Regions from separate parts of the Homo sapiens genome. Here all the other regions are linked to region 2. Evidence: promoter capture Hi-C in 16 types of primary human blood cells and fetal thymus (Javierre and others, 2016). All regions are on one chromosome and are shown on one strand. The core of a region is centred on a gene start or on the middle of the fragment in contact, and the rest is flanking DNA. Distances in the headings are between cores, read along the strand shown.

Region 1 (3,957 bases), core at 234-2,733, 130 kb before region 2:
CCCTCTAGGTGGGGCATGACACCTTCAGTTTACCCCAGTCCTCACCACTCCTTATTGTCTTTGATCCAGCGCTCTTGCAGTCACTTTTTGCAGGCCTGACCCTTGTAGACATTTGAGTTTGAGACCCTTGGCTTAGAGAAGCAGAGATTGGTTATCTGGAATGTGGGGAGACTGAGCTGTTCCTGGAGATTGCTCCTCAAGTCCCCAAGGTTTGTTACAGACAGGATGGGGACTGCTGGTCTCTGTTTCCCTTGAGAGCAGATGCAGATTGTGCTAGAGGAGATTCTGACTGGACAGTGAAGATGGAGGAGCTCAGGGCTGCCTCCTCTACAGAGGGTGGTGCCCATTGCAGCTTCTGTCTCTGATGAACACACACATCCTTTCATCCACAGGCAGCCACTGCTGGGTCCTTCTGAGCTGCTCACCCCGCCTCGGCTTCAGGGCTCTCCTCAGGTGCCTCGTCTTCCCAGGGGTAGAATTCCCTGGAGCATGGCCAGGGGAGTGACTCCTGTGCCAGGCCACGACAGAGGGCACCCCTACACTGGGCAGACAGGAGGTCCCTATTGTTTCCTGGACCTGTGGACTTTGTCGCTCCATCACAGTCTCCTTGGAGGGAACACAGTCTTTGGAAACTCTGCCTTCTTAAAAAAAGCTTCCCATTTTTAACAAAAGTTTACCATTTTAATTCTTATTATAAGTAAGTGGTTTATGTATCCTAATCATGGTATTGGTTATACAAATCTCTACATGCATTAACATTCACAGAACTGGACACATTCCAGAAGAAGTCAATTTTACCTGGGTGGTAATTTTAAAAATAATAAAAAGAATAAAAAGAATTTTTAAAATTTTCTTTAAAGAGAAAATTTAAACATTTTCTTGATGTATCAGATGTGCTTGAATATATGTATATACTTTTGATATTTACATATAATATGTGTAGAATTGTATATACATATATGTATATGCTTATGATTTCATATATGTATAAAATTTCGTTTTCAACTCTTTTTCACTTACTGTGAAACTGATGTTTCCATTTTTTATATGTTCGCCACCAGCTTCCTGGTAACGGTGCTGTGCTATTCACTGGGTGGAGTGAAAATGAGTTGTTACATACCCAGGGCTTAGTGCGGTGCTTGGCACGAGGGAAGTGCTCAGACGTGGTGACTATTATTACTATTAGTATTATTACTATAAGTTATTTAATCCTTTCCTTCTTGATAAAATTTAGAGTGTTTCTAATGTTTATTTTAAATACTTCTTGGAGGGACAATGTGCGTATAATGCTTTTCCTGAATTAGGATCATTTCTTTAGGAGGCTATCCATTTCGAAACAAGTACCATACACATTGTACAATCAGGCCTGTTTCACTACATTCAGACGGGGCTTGGCAAGGTGAACCCACCCTGATGGGGACTGAGAAGGCTTGGTGGTCTCTCCCATGGGTCTGAGGTGCTATTTGGGTTGCCCAGACCCCGCCACCAAACATCCTGTCTCTCACGCATCCTTGATCTCCGTTGCTTTCCGGGTTCTTGCCCCTGAGCCCGCAAATATGCCTGATTCTCTGCTGTCTTTTGAAAACCTTGCCTCCATCCTGACTATTCTCACTCAGCCATTCTGTTTTCTCTTCCTTTCACCACACTTCTCAAAAGAATAATGCCTCTATCTGGAAAGCCTACCTCTGAAACTTTGTGGCAAACTCCTACAAAGCCGTCAAGACTCTGCCCAAATAGAAAGTCTTTTGGGATGCTTGCCCGATTCCCTGAGTTGCTCCCATGCTAGTGCCCATTATGGGGTATTGTGAGCTGTGGAGGGATGGTTCTGTTTTTTTTTTTTTTTTTTTTTTTTTTTTTTTTGAGGCAGAGTCTCACTCTGTTGCCCAGGCTGGAGTGCAGTGGCACAATCCTGGCTCACTGTAACCTCTGCCTCCTGGGTTCACGTGATTCTCCTGCCTCAGCCTCCCGAATAGCTGGGATTATAGGCACCTGCCACCACTCCTGGCTAATTTTGTATTTTTAGTAGAGATGGGGTTTCACCATATTGGCCAGGCTGGTCTCAAACTCCCGACCTCAGGTGATCCGCCTGCCTCAGCCTCCCAAATTGCTAGGATTACAGGCGTGAGCCACCGTGCCCGGCAAGTTCTGTTTATTTTCGTATCTCCAGACTCTAGCACCAGGATGGAAGCATGGGAGGTGCTCTGTGAAGGTTGCTGAGAGATGTGGTTTGGGAAGACTGGAGCAGTCCAGAGGATCAGTGCCTGACCTATGGTGGTGCTCAGTAAACGTAAACATCAGGCAGTTGCAAGCTTCATTCTAAAGCACAGAAATACTGTGCATGCTGCAGAGACTGTCGCTTGATGAGTCTCTGTCAAATTATCTCTCATGTACCTCTGCTCCTGGATTGCCCTTCTCCCCGGCTTCTCCTTTCTCTCCCTGTGGGCACAAAACACCACTGCATGAATGCCAGCCCTTGTGAAAGCCTGGGACAGACGCACCCTCACATCTGTGACAAACTAGACTGGGACGTGACTGGTCTAGGGGTCAACAAGGAACACCATGGAGGATGTGGAGGTGTCAGCCTGCAGGACAGAATCTGAGGCTCTAGTACAGGGGAGGAGAGGCTGATACTCTCTGTGGACTCTGCAGCGTACAGGCCTTAGGGTGACCTGTGACTTGTTTCTTAGCCGTGGAGTAAGGCACATGGCAAAGGTGGTGGGACCTCACTTCTATGATTATGTTGCAGATTATAACATACATGTCATACAGATGGTGACATATAACATATATTAAGATTATGTTACAAATATGTTACATGAACACACAAACACACGTGCACACAGCTCTGTCTTGCTAGCACTAGACACTAGAGAGACCCTACTGCTGGCCTTGTCCTTGAAGATGCCAGTTGCTATAATGTGAACTGTCTACTCTGCGGGAGGTGGGGAGGGCAGGGGCGCAGGTGGCAGGAACTGTAGGTGGCCTCTAGGAGCTGAGTTCTGTTCCAGCAAGGAACTGGATTCTGCCAATACCAGTAGCTTGGAAGGGGATCCCTAGCTCCAGATGAGAATACAGTTGGCTGAGACATTAATTGCAGCCTCATGAGACCATGGGCAGAGGACCCAACTAGGATGTGCCTGAATTCCTGACCCACAGAAACTATGTGCCAATAAGTGTGTATTTTCTTAGGCCGCTACGTTTGCAGTGATTAGTTATGCAGCAATAGATAATAAATATGGCTCCAGAGGCCAGAGGCTCTGAGGGGTCAACTCGGGGAGGCTGACAAGGGAGCTTCCACACCATATCCAGGAATGCTCCCTCCATCCTGGGGCTGCCCCATGGTGCAGTGGACAGGTCTGGAGGCAGTGAGCTGCCTGCCTGTGCCGGTTGAGTGAGGAGTCCTGCACTGGGTCAGACTTGGGACTGGTTGACCTCTGAGGCTCTTTCCACTTCCTAGAGGAGAATTCTGAGACCAAGATTCTAGCACCGTCGAACTAGGTTGGTGCTCCTAGAGGCCATCATACCGTGAGCCAAGGAAGATGCAACTCCTGTTTACACTCAAATGAAGTAGCTGCTTGTTAAGAGGACCCTCCCTGCCTGCTCCCAGGCTGGGTCGGCAGGCTTGGGATTAGGGCAGCCTCGTCACAGTGTCAGGCACCCACTAGGCTGGTGGCCCCCAGGAGGACCCTCATCTGTGGCTGCCTGCAGGCAACCTTGACACCCAGCCCTCTGGCTTCACTGTAAACCTCAGGAGCCCAGCTGGATTAGGCAATCCTGCCACTCTGGGTCTGCTCTGGCCACCATGTTCTCCTCTCCCCAGTTGGGCCATCTAGACCCTACAGACTGACAATGATTTCTGTTAGTGGAGCTCAAGGTGGTCTTGCTGAGTGTGACCAACTGTGGCCTGCACAGGATGTGGCTCCCTTGCTCCAAGGGTAGGTGTCTAGGATGGCACCC
Region 2 (4,431 bases), core at 1,040-3,539:
TCACCACCCAGCCAGTCTGGGCTCATTCTGCCTGAGCCCAGAGATGCTGCACCTCCACCCCAGGCCCAGGGAACCATGGACGGCCCGATGGAGTTCTCCGGATTCCCTGGAGCCTGGCAGGGCGTGGGAATGAGCTGACAGCAGCAGTCATGGGTGCACCACTAGCACCAGTACGCTTGCCCTGTGACCGCTCTCTCTGCTCTGGCCCTGCAATCTCCTCCTTGGCCACCCTGGAGAACTGCTCCAGCAGGTGCCAGCCTGGCAGGGGCAGCTGAGAAGAGCCTGGCTATAGGGAATAGGTACATCTTGCCAAAATGCTCACAGCACCCCACCCACCACAGTTAGAGCTGTGCTCCAGTGTTTGCTACATCAGCACTGTTTCGCATGTTCAGAGGGGTTGGAGCGTTTGTCCCAAGCTTCCAAGTAGCAGAGTGGGGATAAAAACCCAGGGTTGCTGGCCTCTACCACCGTGATCTTTACTGCTGCACACTCCCTCCAGCTAAGTAAGATATCCTCTCCCATTTCTTCCCCATGGAAACCTTCCATGGCCAGGACCTTCCATGGCCAGGACCTGCTCCAGGACCTCTTCCCAGACTGCTGCGGCCCCCACCTGCCTGTCCTCCTCTCTATCTGGGCCCTGAATCCCCTGTGCTGTCCAGATTCCCACAGATCATCAAGCCTCACCCTGTCAAGGCCCAGCCTTTCCTCTGGTGGCACAAAGAGGCTGCATGTCCCTCCTTCCTGGGGAGGGGACAGCCTTTTCCTGTATTCCGAAGATTGCCATAGCTACCTGACACGCTAGTAGTGTTTAATCTACTTGGATCAAAAAAATTTGGAGAATGGAAGAAAGCATCCTTTCTCCAGAAAAATAAGAAACCTGGTTTAGGAAAAAGAAGGTGTGGACTAATTTGTGGCCAAGGACAGCAGAGCCAGGCGACCCACACTTGGACCCTAGCGGCCTGGGCCAGTGAGCAGAGACCAGGGCACCACCCCCTGCAAGAACTGTCCCCTCTCCCCGCACCCCCCGGGTCCTTAAGGGGTGGAGGGGGAGGGCCATGGGGGCTCAGTAAGCCTCGGCCTGGGCCTCTGGGCGCGCTTGCCGCTGCGCGGGCGCGGGGCGGCTGTCACACCACCCTGGCCGGGTCCCGAAAGGGAGGAGTGGAGCTTGCCCGCCTCCGCGAGCCTCCGCGCGCCCAGCCTTCCTCCACCTGCCCGGCGTGCCCAGGGCGCTCCCAGCGCTGGAAGCCGGGGGCGCTTGCCCGAGGCGGGAGTCGCTGGGTCATGCTCTTGCCCACCAGGTCCTCCGAATCCCTGGTAGGGCAGCGTCTGTCCGTGTCCCCGACCCCTCCCGCAGGCAACTCGCGCGAACCTGGGGCTCGCAGAGAGCGAGCGCCCGCGGACACCGGCTGAACAGTCTGGAGGCTGCGCGAGGGGGCGCCGCGGGGAGGGATAAAAGCCAGCAACAAAGAGCACAGACCTCGTCCAGCAGTTGATTGACTCGTCCCAAAATAGCCGTCTCCATTTGCTGCTCCCCGCGCTCCGCTTCCAGGCGCAGCACCCGGGCCTGCAGCTCGGCCGTCCGAAAGTGGGCGAGCAGGCTGAGTGCCAGCGAGCAGAGGGCCAGCGTCAGCAGCCCGCACGACCCTGGACTCGGCAGCCGTGCGCCGCGCTCCGCCCGCGCCGCCACCAGAGCCACCGTCCCGGGCGCGCCCAACTCCCCAGGGCCGCGGGCACCGGTGGCTGCCGCTTTGTGGGTGCGCTCCGCTACCATCCTCTCGCGTCTTGAGAACCAATAAATAAATAAATAGAATAAATAAAGGCGACAGCCGCTGCCAAAAGGCTCTATCCAAACTGCGGGGCAGGGGGAAAGGGCTTGTATCGCTGGAAAACGTCCCTTTCCGCTGCTCCCGGCAAAGAGGACGGAAAAATTAGCAGTAGGAGAGGAAGTGCCGAAAAAGCACAACCAGCGGTAATTGGGGTACACCTAGGTGAGAAAAAAGTTATTTCGAAGAACGTTCCAAGTCCAGGAAAGTTAGGGGAATCTGACCGGCTCTCCTTCTCTCCGCCCAGTCTTTCCCTTCAAGTGTCTGCAGAGCAGTTGGTGCCGCGCTGTCAGTCCTTCTGGGCGCCTCGTGTCTCCCGGGCCAGTCAGTTTCAGTCCCCGGGCGAAGGGGCGCACACGGAGGGCCCCATGGGCAGAGGTGGGTCGTGGCGGCTGGCGAGGAGCGCAGGGGCCGATTCCGGCGCCTCTGTAACTTGACACACTCCCTGCGGCGGCACGGATCGGATGAGCAATCCGTGCTACTTCCCAAACTAATCTCTCCCTCCCCCCTCCCTCCTCCTCCTCCTCCTCGTCACTCCTCCTCCACCTCCCGCGGGGCCGACGGCTTGGATTTGTTTATTTATGCAAACTCGCCCAGGGTGGGGGGCGTGGTGAGCAGGTCCGGCGGCCCCAGCCCGCCGGCCCGGGAGCCCCTCTGCCGCGCTCCCCGTCCTCTTTGAAGTGACACTTGGGGTTATTTATAGGCAGGAAGGGGGTGTGGAGTGGAGCTGGCGCTGCACTTCCCTCTCTTTCTCCGGATTCACACCGAGGGCTCGTTTGGCCTTCCACGGAGGCGGTGAGGCGGGCACCACCTTCCATGGACGCGTTGGGGCAGGCACCACTCCACCTTTCCCAGCCCTTGAGACCCTCCAGGAACTCGACTGAGTTATTGTCAGGGCTTGTGGGTGGATCTCCACGTCCTGATCAGGACTACCTGATCCCTTCAGCCACCGCTCCTCTACTCCCAAGCCCCCAACCTCTTTCCCCTTCCTTCTCCCCCGACAACCGACTCCCCGGGGGCTCTGTACCTCCTGAGATCTGCAGCTCCTCCAGTGCCGGGCGGCCAACCACATCTTTACTCTGGGGTGAAAAGTCAGCCCTCCAGGGGGCAGCAGAGCTGGCAGCCCTTCCTCTCAGGACCAAGACCTGAGGTAGTATGAGACACTGAAAACGGAGGAGATCTTATTCCAGGTATCTGAGAGGTGGCTCATTGGGGCCGCCTGCCAGTCCTGACATCTCCCCTTCTTGCCTGCCATTAATCTGAGACCCATGCCATCTATCCCTGTGTGGTGAGACCAGCCTGCCTCAATCATCCCAGTCATCAAAGGTGAGCAATTCCTACACAAACTCAGGTTCCATCCCTGCGGGAGGCTTAGGGCTAACCAGGCTCTCTCCTGTTGTCATTTCCTATATTCCACTAGAGAAAAACTGGTGGCCTGAAGGGCATTTGGTAGTTTTCTCTCTTCTCTTGTCACCTCCTCCACCCCCCACATTAAGTAGCATTTGTATCCCAAGAGACTTTATCTCCTTGTGCCTGTTGACATTCCTGTGAATGAGGTGGTGGGACTGAGTTTTTGGGAGAAAGCCTGTCTTCCTGGAACAGCGGGCAGAGGAGAGTAGACTGGGTTTTCAAATATGCAGTGGAGGTGGGGGCAGCAGTGGTGCTGGGATTCCATTTCAAAATAACAAGGCATGCCAGTACAAACTTCCCATTTTCTATATTGACCTGATGGAACTTGATATATAATACAGTGTCACTGCACTTCTAATAAAGTGTGGCACACTTAATAGTGCATATTGGACTTGTAACATAGTAAGTACTGAGATCATATGTAATAAAGGTAACATTGACTGCTGGGCCAGTCAGCCACTATGGAGGACAACAGGAATAGAAGGCGATGCTGCTGAAAGAGCCCGTGGCCAGGAGCTCTGGGTTCCAGTTCCAGTTCTAGGATTCTCCTGATGGCTTCAGTGGCAAGGGCACTCTGTTTTCTCCATCCCTGTGATGGGATGTCCCAGTCCACTCTACAGAGGAATGAATCCTTGGGAGACTTGGATGGTATTGAAGAACACCAGGGGGCGTTGGAGAGTTTCTGCACTGGGAGGTACAGGCCAGGAAATTCAGGGACTTTGGACTTCCCCCACTCCCCTCCCAGGCTAGTCTGAATGGAGGAACTGAGGTGGGGAGTTAGTTTCATTCCCTCCTTATTCTGCAAACTGATCTTTTCCCTTTCAGGACTTTGGAGGCCCTCAGGAATGCTCAGGCAGTGAAATCTAAACAGTTTGGAGCTGGAGCATCCTTGTGATTGGGAACTGAAAGAGGAGGGTGTTGCGCTAGCCTGACCTGGCCCCAGCATTGCAAACCCTGGAGCTTCCAGGGGGACTCTGGAGTCAGAGAAACCTGGGTGTAAATCTCCCTTTTGTCAATGTGGAAGCTGCTGAACATCTCGGAGGCTCAGTTTTCTCATTTGTAAGATGGGCTGATAATAAAAGTATCTACCCGTCTGGAAGGACTGAATGAGGTAATGTATGTAAAGCAGTGAACACAGTGCTGGCACAGGGCAGGCACTCAATAAAGGGCATCGGCTCCTTCTTTGGAATTCATGGCT
Region 3 (4,361 bases), core at 1,841-4,340, 160 kb after region 2:
CCGCCTCTTCATTAGACTGTAAGAACCTTGGGGGAAGATGGAGGGCAGCACCCAGCACAGGGCCTTCCTATAGAAGGGAGTCTCAGTGGCTATTTGTGGAATTCGCTGATTAAGCAGGAAGGAGTTGAGAGGAGACAGAAGAATCACTGGACAGACAAATCAAGGGACAAGAAGCTTGAACCATTTCTAGAGACGTCTGAGGACGGAGCCGAAAGAAGGTGAGACAGAGACTCAGCAGCCAAGGACAGGGCCTGATTGAACAAGTTAAAGGACTTGAACCCAGGGAGATAAGTGACTTCTGAAACAAGTACCTTAAGGTGTTGGAGGGCTCCTCAGGGACAGCTTGATGCTGACTGTGGCCTTGAGTGTAATGTCCAAGGAAGACCCAAGAAATGGGGAGCAGAGGGACCTGGGTTTAAATCCTGCCACTTAACAGCTGAGTGAGTTCAGGTAAGTTCCCTGCCTCTCTGAGTCTTAAGTTTATCAATACAACAACTTAAATAGATGGGATAATATGTGTGAAATCCTCTACACCCTGCCTGGTACATGGTAGGCACCCAATCAATTGTAATCGTGGCCATCAAGCTATCAGGTGCTATGGTTGATGGACTTAAGGTGACCCCATGATCCCAGCCTCCTGGTGTTCATGCGTTTCTGTGATCCCCTCCCCTGGTGAGTGGGACCTGTGACTGGCTTCCAACCAACAGAACACGGCAAAGGGGAGGGGATGTCCAGAGCTAGCTTTGGAGTCTCTCTCCGTTGCTGGCTGTGAAGAAACAAGTTGCAGTGAGTCCTATACCTGCAAGAAAGCGCAGCTTATTCTTTCTAGGAAGCTTGGAAGTGGACCCTTCCCAGTCGAGCCTCCAGATGAGAATCCAGCTCTGACTGGCACTGTTGGCAGCTCTGCAGAGGACCTGCTAAGCCATGCCCAGGAACTGTGAGATACTAAATGTGTGTTGTTTTAAGCTGCTAAGTTTTTGGTGACTTGTGACATGGCATAGAAAACAAATAGAGGTGCTATATCAAGAATATGTTATGGAATACATAAGGAATATAAAACTTCCCCTTTTCCTGCACGTCAACCCCAAGAGGGGGCATTATTTCCCCCATTTATAGAGAAAACTGAGGCTTAGCAGAGCAGCTAAATTCCCTGAGACCACGCAGCTCCTGGGGGAGGAGGAGCCAGAACACAGACCCCAGGGCCTGCTGTGAGCCAGGAGGAGCACCAATATCCCTGCTGCAGTGGTGGCAGCCTTACCCCGCAACGTGCTGTGCAGCGCGATGAAGCCTTTAGCGGGGTCTGCCCCGCCCAGTCCTCCACAGACCGCACCCCTCCCTGGTGCCTGGGACCCAGCTGCTTCTCACGGTTCTCTGGCACCTATCTGGTCCCTGAGGGCATTTCAGTTTCTAACTCCTGCATAACTAGGGCACTGGTAGTTAGATCCCAAGTAGATCCAGCCCTGGTTTCTCAAGGGCTTGGGAGCAAAAGGCAAGAGTCTAACTCCCCTGGAATAAGGCAGAGGCAAGGAGACAGCACATGCACCCCCTTCCTGAGCTGTGAGGCCACAATGAGTCACTCCCACAACATCCATGTGTCCCAGGGTCACTGCACCCTCTGCACCCTGGGCTGGGCCTGACCTGTCACTTGACTCCAAGGAAAAGCAAGTGCAGCAGAGGAGGGAGAGAGAAGCGCGAATGCCACAGTCTTGAGAGAAACCCTCCCCAGGCTTCTGGAGTGGGCAGCAGTTCCCACCTGGTGGGTCTTCAAGGAAGGCTGCTTCTTCATTTAAAGAGAGGCTGGGATACAGGCAGATGTCACAGGGAGCCTTGGGACCCCCGGCTCAGAGCTACATTTATACTATTGACCTAGGTTCTTTCATTCCTCCCTCCCTCCCTGCCTCCCTCCTTTCTTTCTTCCTTCCTTCTTCATCCCACACGTGCTGCGGGGTAGAGCTACCTGCACTTACAACTTGAGAATAATGTCCCTGAGTACACAGGTGACAGAGAAGTCACCAGGATCCAACCCAGTCAAGGCAGGAAGAATGGGCTCTGTTTTTGGGGTCCCCTCCTCCCTTTAGTTGGGCTAGTGCCTCATGCCTTCTCATGCAGTTTGCAGAGCAGTCCCCAAGTTTTGACAAAGGGCCAGGGCCCCTGTCTGGGACTGGGAATACAAAAAAGAGCTGAGCATGATCCCTGCCCTCAGAAACTCAGTCTGCCATGTGAGAGGGAAGGAGCCACAAACCCTGCTCCCCGGGGACAGGGCAGCTCCCACCTGGAGGAAGGCTGGCTCATGGCTCTGGAACTGGAACCCAGGCTGCATGTTTTAAAGCTGCCCAGATGAACTGGTGGTGTTGCTAGGTTGAGAACAACTATCACAGGAAAAGGAACACGCTGTTGGAGGCACTTGTGGTTGGCTTGTATGTTCCCTTGCTGACAGCGTCCAGATTTTAGCCACTTCATCAGAAGAAAGTGATTTCTCAGGATTAGCTGAGCTCAAAGCTGCAAAAAAGAAAAAACAAACACACCCCCTCATAGACTGACAAGCGTGCTCACACAGGCCCATGCCTCAGAGGCAGATGTCTTCACTGCATGATACTGGTAAGCAGACATATTGGGAAATTTTTCTATTTTTTTTTCCTCCCAGAATTTCGAAAGCAAATTGCATTTTACATTTTCTTGACTGAGGGCAGACAATTTTCACTAATGGGCCCTGTAGGAGGTGATCTGATACAAACCCTCATCCATGGCACACCGCTACACCCCAGGCACTGCATACACGTCTTCCAATTGCAGCTCAACACCGCCCTAGATGACACGTCATCCCCATTTCACAGATGAGGCACAGTAAGGAACTTGCCCAAAGCTACCAAATGGGGAGCCTGTCTGACTCGCCTGCTTCTTGCCTCCAGTGAAAAAGACAAGAGCTAGGCAATGGGCCCCATGTCACAAATATCACGTTCATTGAGGGGAACCACCTGGCGCCAGGCTCTGAGTAAGGACAGGCAAGTGTGAGGCGTTGGTGGGTGCTGCACTGGGTAAGGCTGGGCTAGACATAGCCACCCCCACCTAGAGAGAGTGCAGCCTTAAACAGTAAGCAAGCCCCTTCCACTAACATGATCACAGCAACCCTGGGCCACCAAGTCTAAAACTTCTCACTCTGTCTCCTAGGCTGAAAACTCAAATACTGGAAGGTCTGGTTCAAGACTAGACCCCGGCGACAAACCCTCTCCCTGGGGGTTCCACAGCCACCTTCCACCCTCCCTAGGGCTCCCAGATTCAGTTTGCTGGAGGCTGGCGAGGCAGGCTCCAGATCTGCTGCCTGCCAACTTTGTGGCCACATATAAATTCCTTTACTCTGGGAAAAAGGAAGGACATATATTTTTCTTTGCTTGGGAGAGGATGAAATGAAACAAAACTTATGAATGTTCCCGGCACTAGGCTCAACCCAGGACGAAACCACAGTGAATGAGAAATTATAATGGAATTGTGCATGCTCTCCACCAGAAACCTTTCCAAAATACAAGGTAATACCAAGCCTGGGCTGGCTGAGGTGAGCACTAACCGGGAGCAGGAGAGCAGATGAATCCATTTGTAGTATATTTGCAGGAGGGAGTTCCTGCTCCTGTCCAAAAATTCCACCAGGTGGCGCCATGAGACAACTTTCACAACCTTTCCAGTCTACACACCAAGGTGGTGGGGGTCCCTCAGGTCCCTGCAAAAGGGCATTGAGAGTTCATTACCCAGTTCAGAGCAAGAAAGCTGGGGTCTTGGTCTCTCCTCAAGGCTTTTCTTAACTTCCTTAATCCAGATGTTCATGAAAATGGGGTGTTACTGGACACATAAAAGGGAACAACACACATTGGGGCCTTTCAGAGGGTGGAGTATGAGAGGAGGGAGAGGATCAGGAAAAATAATGAGTGGGTACTAGGCTGAATACCCGGGTGATGAAATAATCTGTACAACAAACCCCCATGACACAAGTTTACCTATACAATAAACCTGCACATGTACCCCTGAACTGAAAAGTTAATTTTTTTTAAAAAAGAAAGAAAATGGGGTGTTAGAGGAAGTGGGGACAGCAACGTGTTGGACAATGACGTTGGCAATGCCAGGCCAGGCAGCAGCAAAGTCCATCAAGCGTCTACTAAGGGCAAGGCCCTCTGTGGTAGGTGTCGGTCTCAGAGCTGAAAGGGGCCTTCGTGGAAGTCTAGCCCAGCCTGTTTGTTTTTCCAGAATGAGGGAGGCCAGGCGGGGGTCACTCCCTGCCTGTCAGAGGTTGTGGGGAGTCCCTCTCAGCTCGTCTCAGGGTGCAGTGTGACCCAGGAGGCAGTGTTCAGGTGAGGCCACTGCGCCTTTTCAAG

What was found. Contacts are between HindIII fragments. The CHiCAGO score rates a contact against its expected background, and 5 or more counts as called.
Region 1: a contact is called between a fragment that was not itself captured here and the fragment with the promoter of COL13A1 in region 2, in 1 of 17 cell types (endothelial precursors). The highest score is 5.3, in endothelial precursors.
Region 3: a fragment that was not itself captured here is called in contact with the fragment with the promoter of COL13A1 in region 2 in 1 of 17 cell types (endothelial precursors); the score reaches 6.6 in endothelial precursors.

What each region holds. Positions count from the first base shown.
Region 1 is chr10:69,931,039-69,934,995 of GRCh38, reverse strand. COL13A1 (collagen type XIII alpha 1 chain) reads right to left here. Exons shown (of 41, transcript NM_001368882.1): 31 at 2,392-2,436. Among named protein-coding and RNA genes, the nearest start is that of LINC02636, 76 kb to the left of the region's middle. The HindIII fragment of the contact is 1,657 bases long and covers 655-2,311 here.
Region 2 is chr10:69,799,764-69,804,194 of GRCh38, reverse strand. It overlaps COL13A1 (collagen type XIII alpha 1 chain), which reads right to left and starts at 2,289. Exons shown (of 41, transcript NM_001368882.1): 1 at 1,478-2,289. The coding sequence starts at 1,771. It overlaps LOC124902444 (a long non-coding RNA gene), which reads left to right and starts at 2,424. Exons shown (of 2, transcript XR_007062179.1): 1 at 2,424-3,149; 2 at 4,059-4,332. The HindIII fragment of the contact is 5,096 bases long and covers 419-4,431 here.
Region 3 is chr10:69,638,696-69,643,056 of GRCh38, reverse strand. No RefSeq gene overlaps it. Among named protein-coding and RNA genes, the nearest start is that of FAM241B, 11 kb to the right of the region's middle. The HindIII fragment of the contact is 4,509 bases long and covers 836-4,361 here.